Regions from separate parts of the Homo sapiens genome. Here region 2 is linked to region 1. Evidence: promoter capture Hi-C in 16 types of primary human blood cells and fetal thymus (Javierre and others, 2016). All regions are on one chromosome and are shown on one strand. Each heading gives the region's core, a stretch centred on a gene start or on the middle of the fragment in contact. The rest is flanking DNA. Distances are from core to core; before and after follow the strand shown. Region 1 holds the start of LNX2 (ligand of numb-protein X 2). Region 2 has its middle 36 kb from the start of RNF6.

Evidence for each region. Contacts are between HindIII fragments. The CHiCAGO score rates a contact against its expected background, and 5 or more counts as called.
Region 2: a contact is called between a fragment that was not itself captured here and the fragment with the promoter of LNX2 in region 1, in 1 of 17 cell types (activated CD4 T cells). The highest score is 9.4, in activated CD4 T cells.

The regions. Positions count from the first base shown.
Region 1 is chr13:27,616,336-27,621,778 of GRCh38, forward strand. It overlaps LNX2 (ligand of numb-protein X 2), which reads right to left and starts at 4,194. Exons shown (of 10, transcript NM_153371.4): 1 at 4,040-4,194. It also overlaps a transcript of POLR1D not described here. RefSeq lists silencers at 3,744-4,633, 5,254-5,443 and an enhancer at 4,222-4,950. The HindIII fragment of the contact is 4,924 bases long and covers 2,923-5,443 here.
Region 2 is chr13:26,183,690-26,189,132 of GRCh38, forward strand. It overlaps a transcript of RNF6 not described here. Among named protein-coding and RNA genes, the nearest start is that of RNF6, 36 kb to the right of the region's middle. RefSeq lists enhancers at 2,456-2,625, 2,676-2,725. The HindIII fragment of the contact is 1,438 bases long and covers 2,451-3,888 here.

The sequences.
Region 1 (5,443 bases), core at 2,944-5,443:
CTTTCAGAGGAAGCCTTCAGGTAGTAGGCTTCGATAGGTGGTAGTAAAACGTTTCTTATCGGACTTAAAGTCTATGTTAATGTTAATGTCAGAGAGGTATAACAAGTCATGTCCGACCTCCACTTCCCACTCATGGCCTGAAACTGTCTCTCAGGTTAAATTTTAAAAGACCCCTGGATGAGGAGGAAGTCCATTCAGATGGCTGGGGAGAGGGGGAAGCTTAGAATTTTATTTTTGGTTTACAATACATTAATATTTGTTTAAGTACTTAGGGATTCTGCAGTTAGCAAAATAGATAGGATCCCAGCTCTAGGAAGCACACATTCTAAAGGATAGAACCTACAACACCTGCTTCTTTAAAAGCATACTAACTAGAGGACAATTTATTATTGTAATGTCATGAGCACTTGCTTGTTAAAAAATTCCTTTTTTGAGATGGAGTCTAGCTCTATCACCCAGGCTGGAGCGCAGTGGCGCAATCTCAGCTCACTGAAACCTCTAGCTCCCGGGTTCAAGCGATTTCTCCTGCCTCAGCCTCCTGAGTAGCTGGGATTACAGGCACCTGCCACCACGCCCAGCTAATTTTCGTATTTTTAGTAGAGACAGGGTTTCACTGTGTTGGCCAGGCTGGTCTTGAACTCCTGACCTCGTGATCGCCCGCCTCAGCCTCCCAAAGTGCTAGAATTATAAGCGTGAGTCACTGCACCTGGCCAAAAAATTCCTCTTAATAACTTCTTAGAAGGCTAATACACAAAATAGCCACCTTTTCTGAATCCAACCAAACAAAATAACTTATTAACCACAGATTTTCCTACTGCTTTGTATTTTCTGAGGAAAAGAAACAGGTGCCAGGAAAGCTAAAAGGGATGTCTTTTGTAAGACTCTCAGGCCCTCCTACAGGGTCAATTTAGGTAGGCCTGCCCCAGTCTTCTAATTCTACATGCAAGATACATATGTATTACTTTTTCAAACAACACTGCTTCCTAAATAGAGGAGAACCTATGAAATGAGACCTGTGATTCTTTTTTAAAAACCTAGATGCATTTGGATAGAGGAAGGTGGGCCTGTGAACTCTAGCCCTGTAAGCAGGAAGGAAAGTTAAATAGTTCCTCATAATACAATTTAAAGATATCGGGTGGCAATTGTAAAGGAAAGAAAGAAGAGGGGAAGAAGGCCAAAGAGCCAACCAGATTACAAGAGCCTGGAGTCCTCCTTTCTTTGATGGTGGCCAAAATATATTTTAAGGATAGAAATGCCTAATATTCAATGTCAACACTTCTGATATCGCTCCACTGTGAACCCCTTCACCCTCCCCTTCCTCTAAATCTCTCATAAAGCTTACCATACTCATAAAGCCTTTCTGTGAACTCTTTTTCTTTTCTATTCTTTCCTAGCTCCTGTGAGACACAACTATCCAACAACTGCATCATGGATCTCTCAACCATCCATTTAGCACCTCCTTAGATTAGTCCAAAACTGAACTTATCTTCCCTTCTACACCTCTACCATCAATTGTTTTTAACTGCTCCTTCTCATATCCTCCAACATTCCACTAGCTCATTAATGTCATCATCTAAAGGAACAACTAATATTTACTGAGCACTTGGAATGTGCTAGGTACCCTGCCAAAGGCATTACATGCATAATTCCTCAAACCCTACTCAACAGGTACGACAATCATTTCCCAAATGTTAGGAAATCAAAGTTCTGTCAGGATAGTTATTCTAAGGGTAAGTAATAGAATTAGAATTTGACCCGTTTTAATTTCACAGCCAGCTTACCCAGTACATGTCAATCAATGCCTGAAGTCAAACAACCCAGGATTCATCCTTCCCTCCTTAAGCCTACCCAGTCACTTACCTAGTCCAGCCTCCTAGTCATACCTCTTAAACACCACGTCATTTCTCCTTCCACTGCCAGCACACTAGCATTTACTAAGTCCTTACTATCTGGCAATCACTATTCTAAGTAATAGACATGTTTTTTCAAGTTCTATCCCCCAAACTCTGAGATGACAAACCTAAGGAACAAAGAGGTTTCAGTGTATGACAGAGCCTGATTCCACCCCAGGTAATCTGAATAGAGAATCCCTGAGCACTTAACCCCTCCATTAGAACAGCCTCCAACTTAGTCTCCATATCGCCCATCTGGAAGCCCACCATCCTCCAGACGCTGCAGATATCTTTCTGGAATGCTTACCCGTTATCATGACATTCTCCTGCTTAAAATTAGCAGCTCAGTATCACTGACTGGATAAAGTCCAAATTTCTTAATCTGGTATAAAAAATCCTTCATTTTTCTGTTCAAGTCAATTCAGTAAATATTTTAGTGCCCAATGTAAGCAAGAAAAGGTGCCAAGTGTTCTGAAATGAATAATACATGTCCCTGACTACTACCTCCACCTCGGACACTGGGTCCTTCGGCCAGACAAGCCCATATGCAAAGCTCGTAATACAACAGCCCAAAGACACATACATTTATTTTTAAGTGGCCTGCGTGCTACGTGCCTACAATGTACGAAATCCCAAACCAATCTGAAGACTAAGTGCCTACGTAACACCTATTCTTACAGGTCTCCAGGCAGAAATGCTCCCTAAGTTCAAATTACTTCAGGGTAACTAGTGGGATAAAGGCATGGATCAGTTTCCAAATGAGAAAACTGGGCAAGAAGCAACCCCCGCCATCAATGGCTGGCATGCAGTAGGTACTTTATCAGTGGCTAAATGAATAAATAATGAAAAAATTTCAAAGTTGATGAGAGAAACAAGATATATGGAGAATGTAACACACAAGTGGGCCGAATTAAAAGTGATGTTATTCTACTTTGGTTCTCATTTGGCCTACTTTTACCCCATGGGAAAACTCACATGTGGGACTCGGACAAGCTAAAAAGCCAAAACTTTGTTATTCATGGCTCAACAAAGCTTTGACAAGCCAAAAAGGATACCAGATTCCCGCTTCCTTCTTTACCTGCCAAAGTCCATTTTCTAAAGAGGTGTGGGGGTGGGAATCAAATCTAGCAAAGTAAATAAAATTGATCTACTGAGATCCAACTTCATTAGTGCTGCATCGAAGTACATGCAAAAGAAATATCAAAACCTGTCCTGGGAAGAAGGCCAATTTACAAGTAAGTACTATTGCCGCAAGAATGTGAAATTCTTAAAGGCAGTTCCAATAAGCTGGAGCTCACAAGTGTTCCTCCTCCTGCACCGCCACCGCTTTTCACTCAACTTTGTTTCTGATTTCTGTGATTTTAAAAAGCATAATATACACAGCAAAGCCCATGCATAAGTGTACTTTAGCTCCTGGTACAAACGAACGTCTGGATTCATAAACTTAACGTAAACTGAAATACTAAAAGAAACACTACATGAGTCAAAAGTCCTTGTTTAAAACGTGGCATACAGCTTTGAAAAGCGAGTGATGTATTTCCTGAATGATGCTTTGTGTGCAACTGCTTCCAAATCAAGATTCATATTTTTAAATTACCCCCTGGAAGATGTCAAATCTCTCTCCCACCCTCTCCAGCCTAAAGAGAAAGGTGAGAATTCACAGGCAACAGGCTGGGGCGGAGGGAATGATCTCTCCCCATCCCTTTCCAGAGAACAAAACCCGATAAAGGCAGCTAGTGCCACTCTCATTGCCGACACCACACACACACAGAGGAAATTTAAACACTCACCCCACCTCTCCCTTCCCTTAAGAAGCAAACGACGCCAAGCTCTGCACCACGGTGGCCGGAACCAGCAAACGCTAACAGCCGGAGGCCGCCCGCCTCCCGGGCGCCTGCAGGCGGCGGGCACCGGGCGCCGACTCTCCCTCCTGGACCAGACCCACACCCGAGTCCACGCCAGCCCCGCAGCCCGGGCGAGCGAAGACAGCCGCGAAGGACCAAGGCTCCGGGGCGAGCTGTGGCGCCGCTCCGGCCGCCTCCCGGGGCGCGGCGCTGACCCACACCCAGCTGACGCCCGCACCTGAGGCGGCTGCCCGCAGCCAGCGAGAGGGCGCGCAGCGAGGCGGGCAGGGCAAAGTTACTCACTGGGAAAGCGCGGCTGCCCGGGCCGCGCACGGGCTCCTGGCGCCGCTGCTCGGCACCAGCTCCCGCTCTCCGCGGCCCGCTGAGGGAGCGGAGAGCCTGCCCGGCTCCGCTCCGCCAGGAATCGCCGCCGCCGCCGCCGCCGCCGCGGATTTCCTGGCAAAAAGCAAACTCCGGCCAAGACTTCACTTCTCAACCGCCCCTGCTGCCTTCCCGGGGGCAGCGCCAAGGCCGAGCGGCCCAACCCGCACCCGGGCCAATCGGAGGTAGCACAGGGCGGGAGGTGGGCGGACCAGAGGGCGGCTCCACCTATCCGAGAGCTCGGGAGGCGGGCCAGAAGGGACCCGTCACTCCCGGGTTAGAGTGAGACCACTCCGCCCTCGCCGCCCGCCTCCCCCACTCGCCCCGGGCTGTCCCCGCCGCCCGCCTGATTCCCCTGCGGAAGCCCCGCTGGCTAGGTGTCTGCGCGCACCCCCGGCCGCCGCCAAGAGTGGCACAGCTGGGGAAGGAGTGAACATCCAGAGGAATCGCGGGGCGGGGTGGGGGGAGGCCAGGAGAACAGGTGGCGCAGGGAAGCAGAAACGTAGTTGCGCTGGACAGCTGGAGTCGGGCAGGGTCGGGGCCAGCGGCGAGGGGACAAGAAGGGCCGATTCGAGAGGAAGCGCACCTGAGGGAGCACAGCGAAGGCCGGGACGCAGGGAGCTGGATGGAGAGCGAGCCTGGGCGGCGAAAGGTTGCCGAGGCGGGGGCTGGGCGCCTGGGAACAAAGGTGAGGGCGGGTTCCGCAGGTGAGGAGGTTTGAGGAGCCACTGGGGAGAAAGGGAAAAGGAAGTCTACAGCCGGAGAGGACGCGCTCTGGGGGTAGAAGGAATCCTAGGACGGAAAGGATAAGGTGGGAAACAGTTTTCTCCCAAACTCTCACTCCCCCAAAAGAGACATTTCTTTCTTGCCCTATTTTGACCCAGTTGAAAATGCAACTGCAAGCTCCCCGGTGAAACAAATACCGCCTTCAACCTTCGTATTCTGTGGTGACTCATCTCGCACGTGACCCCCCTCCCTCTTCAAGGTGTGTTGACCGACTACAGTTTAAGCCTGTCGTCCCACAAAAGGCCCGGGAGGGCCGGGGTCCCAGGAAGGGCCATCCTGGGTCAACACCGCCCCAGTTGGGAAGTCGGGCCGCTTTCGGACTTGCCACTGGGAAGGGAAGTGATTTGGGGGCGGCAGGTAAGGCCGCGCCCCTTCGCCATCACCTGGGGAAAGGTACCAGAGTTGAGCCGGGGCGCCCGCAGGCCTGTCTGGGCCTCGGGGTAAGGCGGCGCTGGCCCCGCCCCCTGCCCCTCCCGCCGCGAGTGGCCTCGCGTGGTCGCCCAGGTGAGCCGCGGGGCCGCGAGCCACCGCTCACCCCGC
Region 2 (5,443 bases), core at 1,920-4,419, 1.4 Mb before region 1:
TACAGAATAGCAACTGAATTATTTATATATACAATTCGCAGCTTAGCAAACAATTTCATGGTTAACTGCATTCTGTGCTATACTTTTCACTCATATTCTCACAGAAAGTATAGATTACTTTGCTTGAAAATTCATAAAAAATCTACAATATATTCCTCGAATTATTTATATATTTTTATATATATAAAATATAGGTTTTTTTATACTTATTTATATATGTAATATATACAATATTTATTTTTTTATAATTATTCATATATATACATACTGGTGGAGCTGCCCTCCACCAGCAGATAAATAAAATATATATATATATATATATATATATATTTTTTTTTTTTTTTTTTTTTTTTTTGAGACAGAGTCTCGCTCTGTTGCTCAGGCTGGAGTGCAGTGACACGATCTCGGCTCACTGCAAGCTCCGTCTCCTTAGGTTCACGCCATTCTCCTGCCTCAGCCTCCCGAGTAGCTGGGGCTACAGGTGCCCGCCACCCACCACGCCAGGCTAATGTTTTGTATTTTTAGCAGAGACGGGGTTCCACCCTGTTAGCCAGGATGGTCTCGATCTCCTGACCTCGTGATTCGCCCGTCTCGGCCTCCCAAAGTGCTGGGATTACGGGCGTGAGCCACCGCGCCCGGCCGCCTCAAATTATATTCTAATCAGTCTCCCTCAGTTTAGCCTCTGCATAAAGGCACTTTAAAAGTCTTCGAACACTGAACTCTCAAGTGAAAAAGACATGTTGTTGTATAAAAATCTGTTTTATGCTTTTTGCTCTAGAAGTCTCTAAGGCTTAAAAATCAGCAGGGCATATTCTGCTATCAAAACTACAACAGTATAATTTAGTTGTCTTCAAAGTAAAAAGATTTGTAAGACTTGACATATGAGAACAGATTATCTAATTGTTTCCCCTTTATTGAGTATTGGCCATGATGTTACAGAGACGAACATTCAGTTTTGAGTCACTTCTACTCGCAGATGTTTCAACGTTTCCTGGTCCATAATGACTGCACAATACGAGTATCTCTGCCTTTTAAAGCTGTTCTGGCTTAAAACAATGCCTCACCTTACATTTTCTATGAGTGAAAATAACGTAGATTGAATGCTAAGCATACACACTGTGCAGGCCACAAAGGATAAATCTGTGGACTCCTGCAGAAGGCAGGCGATCCAAAGCAAATGTCCTTAGCTGCCCTCCACCAGTAGAGGGCAGCCCTCTCCCTACAAACTGTCTACCTAGTGAGCTCCAAAGTGCGCTGCAGGAAATTATTTTAGAACTTGTAGGTATTGTTATCATTTTATTGATTGATTGATTGATTGACTATTAAGACAGGATTTCACTCAGCCACCCCAAGCTGTAGTGAAGTGGCACAAACACGGTTCATTGCAGCCTCAACTTCCCAGGATCAAGCCATTCTCCCACCTCAGCCTCCCAAGCAGCTGGGACAACAGGCGCACACCACCATGCCCGGCTAATTTTTTCAAATTATTTTTTGTACAGATGGGATCTCACTATGCTGCCCACGCTGGTCTCGAACTAATGGGCTCAAGCTATCTGACCGCCTCGGCCTCCAAAAGTGCTGGAGTTACAGGCATGAGCCATCATCCCCGACCAAGGTATTATTTTTATTTTAGCTTTTTAAAATTTCTATTTGGTGTGCTCTTTGTAATAATACATAAATATATATATGAGCATGCATTACATTTTTATAACTTATAAATAAATACATATACATATACATTTGAAGTGCATTTTTTTTAAAAAAAGTTGTTACTTGGCTGGGCACAGTGGCTCACGCCTGTAATCCCAGCACTTTGGGAGGCCGAGGTGGGCGGATCACGAGGTCAAGAGATCGAGACTATCCTGGCCAACATGGTGAAACCCCGTCTCTACTAAAAATACAAAAAATTAGCCTGGCGTGGTGGCAGGCGCCTGTTATCACAGCTACTTGGGAGGCTGAGGCAGGAGAATCGCTTGAACCCGGGAGGCGGAGGTTGCAGTGAGCCGAGATCGTGCCACTGCACTCCAGCCTGGGCAAAACGAGCGAAACCCTGTCTCAAAAAAAAGTTGTTACTTAAAGTAATGCATTGTCAACAGAAGTGTAGAGGCCATGATTCTAAACTTGTGTTCTCTACGCCTAACTACGAACCTTGTGCCTTTCCAAAACCAAAGGTCACACTTCTGGAAAGTTCCTTCCTCCCTCACATTCAATATCTATTTAGAGAACACACACTATGTCCTAGCTTCTGCTAGGTTCTGAAAATACAGTAAGAGGCAAAAGAGCCATAGCCCCTCCCACCCCGTGCCCTTATGAAACTTGCAGTCTACATAAACATAGATATGAAACAAACACAAAATGTATGTTTTAACCCTAAAATGCGATAGGGAAGCCAGTCAGACGATTTACTCGGGAGTAAGAATTCAGGTCATTCACCAAGGCGCCCATGTCAAAGCTTCATCACCCGCCTCGCGGCCCTAAAACGTGTCAGAGTCATGATACACACAACGCAGAGGAAAAGTTCAAAAACAGATCTTAAAAAGAGAAGTGAAAGCAAGCGATCAAAACATTTCTGGAAATCTGACACATCTGGAGTGCCGTGTGGAGACGCCAGGGCGCGTGGAGCTTTGAGCAGTTAAAAACCCAGACCGGGAGGCCAGTGCGTGTGTAAGACCGCGTTTCTCTGCAAGGCTGTCCCGCGGCAGGAACGCGCTCGTTGGGCCGCAGAGCAAGAGCGGGACGCGCCGGGGGGCGTCTGCGTGGCACGTGGGCCCCGCAGCCAGTCGCGCTACCGACTGGCAGTCAGCGGAGACGCTTCGGAGCAGGTCTGTTAGGGCGCGCGCACACACATGCACGTGCACGAGCGCACGTACACGCGCACACCGCCAGCGCGGACCCTGACGGGGCCGAGCCTCGGAATTGGGCCTCCTCGGCCGCCGTCGTCTTCTCAGCTCTCACAGGGCCCGCAGCGGCGCTATACCTTCGGCCACAGGTAGCGCGTTCCTTCGCTGTGCTGACCGTCGATCCCGGGGGCGCTAGAGCGCCGGCTCCGGGGAGGGCAGGGAAGCGTCAGGGACCTTTCTTCTTCTTTTTTTTTTTTTCTTTTTTTGAGACGGAGTCTCGTTCTGTCGCCCAGGCTGGAGTGTAGTGGCGCGATCTCGGCTCACTGCAATTTCCGCCTCCCAGGTTCACGCCATTCTCCTGCCTCAGCCTCCCGAGTAGCTGGGACTACAGGCGCCCGCCACCACGCCCGGCTAATTTTGTGTATTTTTAGTAGAGACGGGGTTTCACCGTGTTAGCCAGGATGGTCTCGATCTCCTGACTTCGTGATCCACCCACCTCGGCCTCCCAAAGTGCTGAGATTACAGGCATGAGCCACCGCGCCCGGCAAGCGTCAGGGACCTTTCTAGAGCCTTGCTTGGCCTGAGGTCCGGGACTGGGGCTGTCCCCGCTTCCTGTTTCTGCCATCAGTGGGGCCACAGGCCTGAAGACGGCTTGTACCGCCACCTTGGGCGCCTCTGCTCCTGGCTGCGACGTGGGGCGTCCTAGCCTTCGGACCGGGAACCTGATAGGAGACGAATAGAAAGGGGGAAAGCCCTGGAAAATTAAGCCGGCACAAGAAGGGGGAAACGTTTGGAGGTCAGGCAAGGCTGATGGCCTTGGGGATCGCGGAGCAGGAGGCTTACTGGGATGTCCAGTGTGAGAATGTCAGCCCGTGAGCTCTGGTGTGCAAGAAAAATGCCTCTTTTCTGGATTTCAGGTGAATTTCTGACTCCTCTGGGCTACATACGACCACCCTTCCCTGGCCCCCTCTGGTGAACTGGTTATAAAAGAAAAATTACCCTAGTTCTTCCTGCGGTCCCCTCCCCAGGGATTAGGCCAAGTTCTGGAAGCTTATTGGGTGACTTAGTGGGTATGTTAATGGTTAAGTAACGTACCCAAGGTCTTATTGCCAATCAGTGGCAAAGTCAGGATTCAAATGCAGATCTCTTGGACTCCAGAGGCTGGAGTTTATTAAATGTTTAGCCCCAGCTCTATTTGATTTTGGGGGTTTTTTAAGACAGTCTCTATCTGTTGCCCAGGATGGAGTGCAGTGGTGCAATCTTAGCTCACTGCAGCCTTGAACTGTTGGGCTTAAGCAGTCCTCCTGCCTCAGCCTCCCAACTAGCTGGGACTACAGGCGTGTGCCACCACACCTGGTTCCTAGCTCTATTTGAGACCACAGTGGCCTGAAGTGTAAAGCACACTGGACACTAGGTGTCAAAAAATAGAACTAGAAGTCAACAAGTGATCTAAAACAAGATTCTGTAGGTGTCTGGGCATCAGTTTCATCATCTGGGTGAAATGGACTTGAACCTGTTAATATCCAAGGTCCCTTCAGCCCTAATAGTCTAGGAATTCTAGAGAGTGTAACTGCTCATTTGCAGGCTGCCATCCAGACCATCACAACTGTCTTGTGGCTCATGGAGACTTTCAGATTGATGCAGTGGCTCCAAGGCGAAGTGACCTCAATTGCTGATGCAAAACTAGATTCTATAAGTGTAAACTGGTGGTTCACAAGGACAGGTGAGAAGTGCTGATGGTGGCAAGGGAGGCAATTATAACAATATCCCTCCCCTTCTACCCCATCCTCCACCCCACTTGTGACAGACATAGACAAGGACTTAATTGTGGCACAGAGGAAGGGCAACTGACTCTTGAGACCAGTGAATCTGTAGTCAAAACGCACTGATCACTGTTGAATAACTACTGGAATTATCAAGAGTCTGGCTGAATTTACATTTTACTTTCCAAAACAAATATAACCAAAAATTCCAGTCACTGCATAAGCCAGAAGCAGGTGACACACAGAAGTGAAGACTGAGGGGAGTTTAGGTGAAAGCTGCAGCTGTTCTCTCCCTTTTAGTGGGGGCTTTAGTTGGACAAGTCAAAAGAGCTTTTTTTTTTTTTTTTTTTTTTTTTTTTTTGAGATGAAGTCTCACTCTGTTGCCAGGCTGGAGTGGCATGATCTCGGCTCACTGCAACCTCTGCCTCTTCAGTTCAAGCACTTATCCTGCCTCAGCCTCCCAAGTAGCTGGGACTACAGGCACATGCCACCATGCCCGGTTAATTTTTGTATTTTTAGTAGAGATGAGGTTTCAACATGTTGGCCAGGATGGTCTCAATCTCTTGACCTCGTGATCTGCCCACCTTGGCCTCCCAAAGTGATGGGATTACAAGCATGAGCCACTGCGCCCGGCTCAGAACAGATTTCTGAAGAGGTTGTATGCAAACTGATTATTGTAGACTCAAAGGCTTACACTCCCATGAAGTAAGAGGGAGCTTTCTTAAATGTAAGATAGAATCAAAATATTCCTAGTAGCCAGGGATGGTGGCTAACGCCCGTAATCCCAGCACTTTGGGAGGCCGAGGCAGGTGGATCACCTGAGGTCAGGAGTTTGAGACC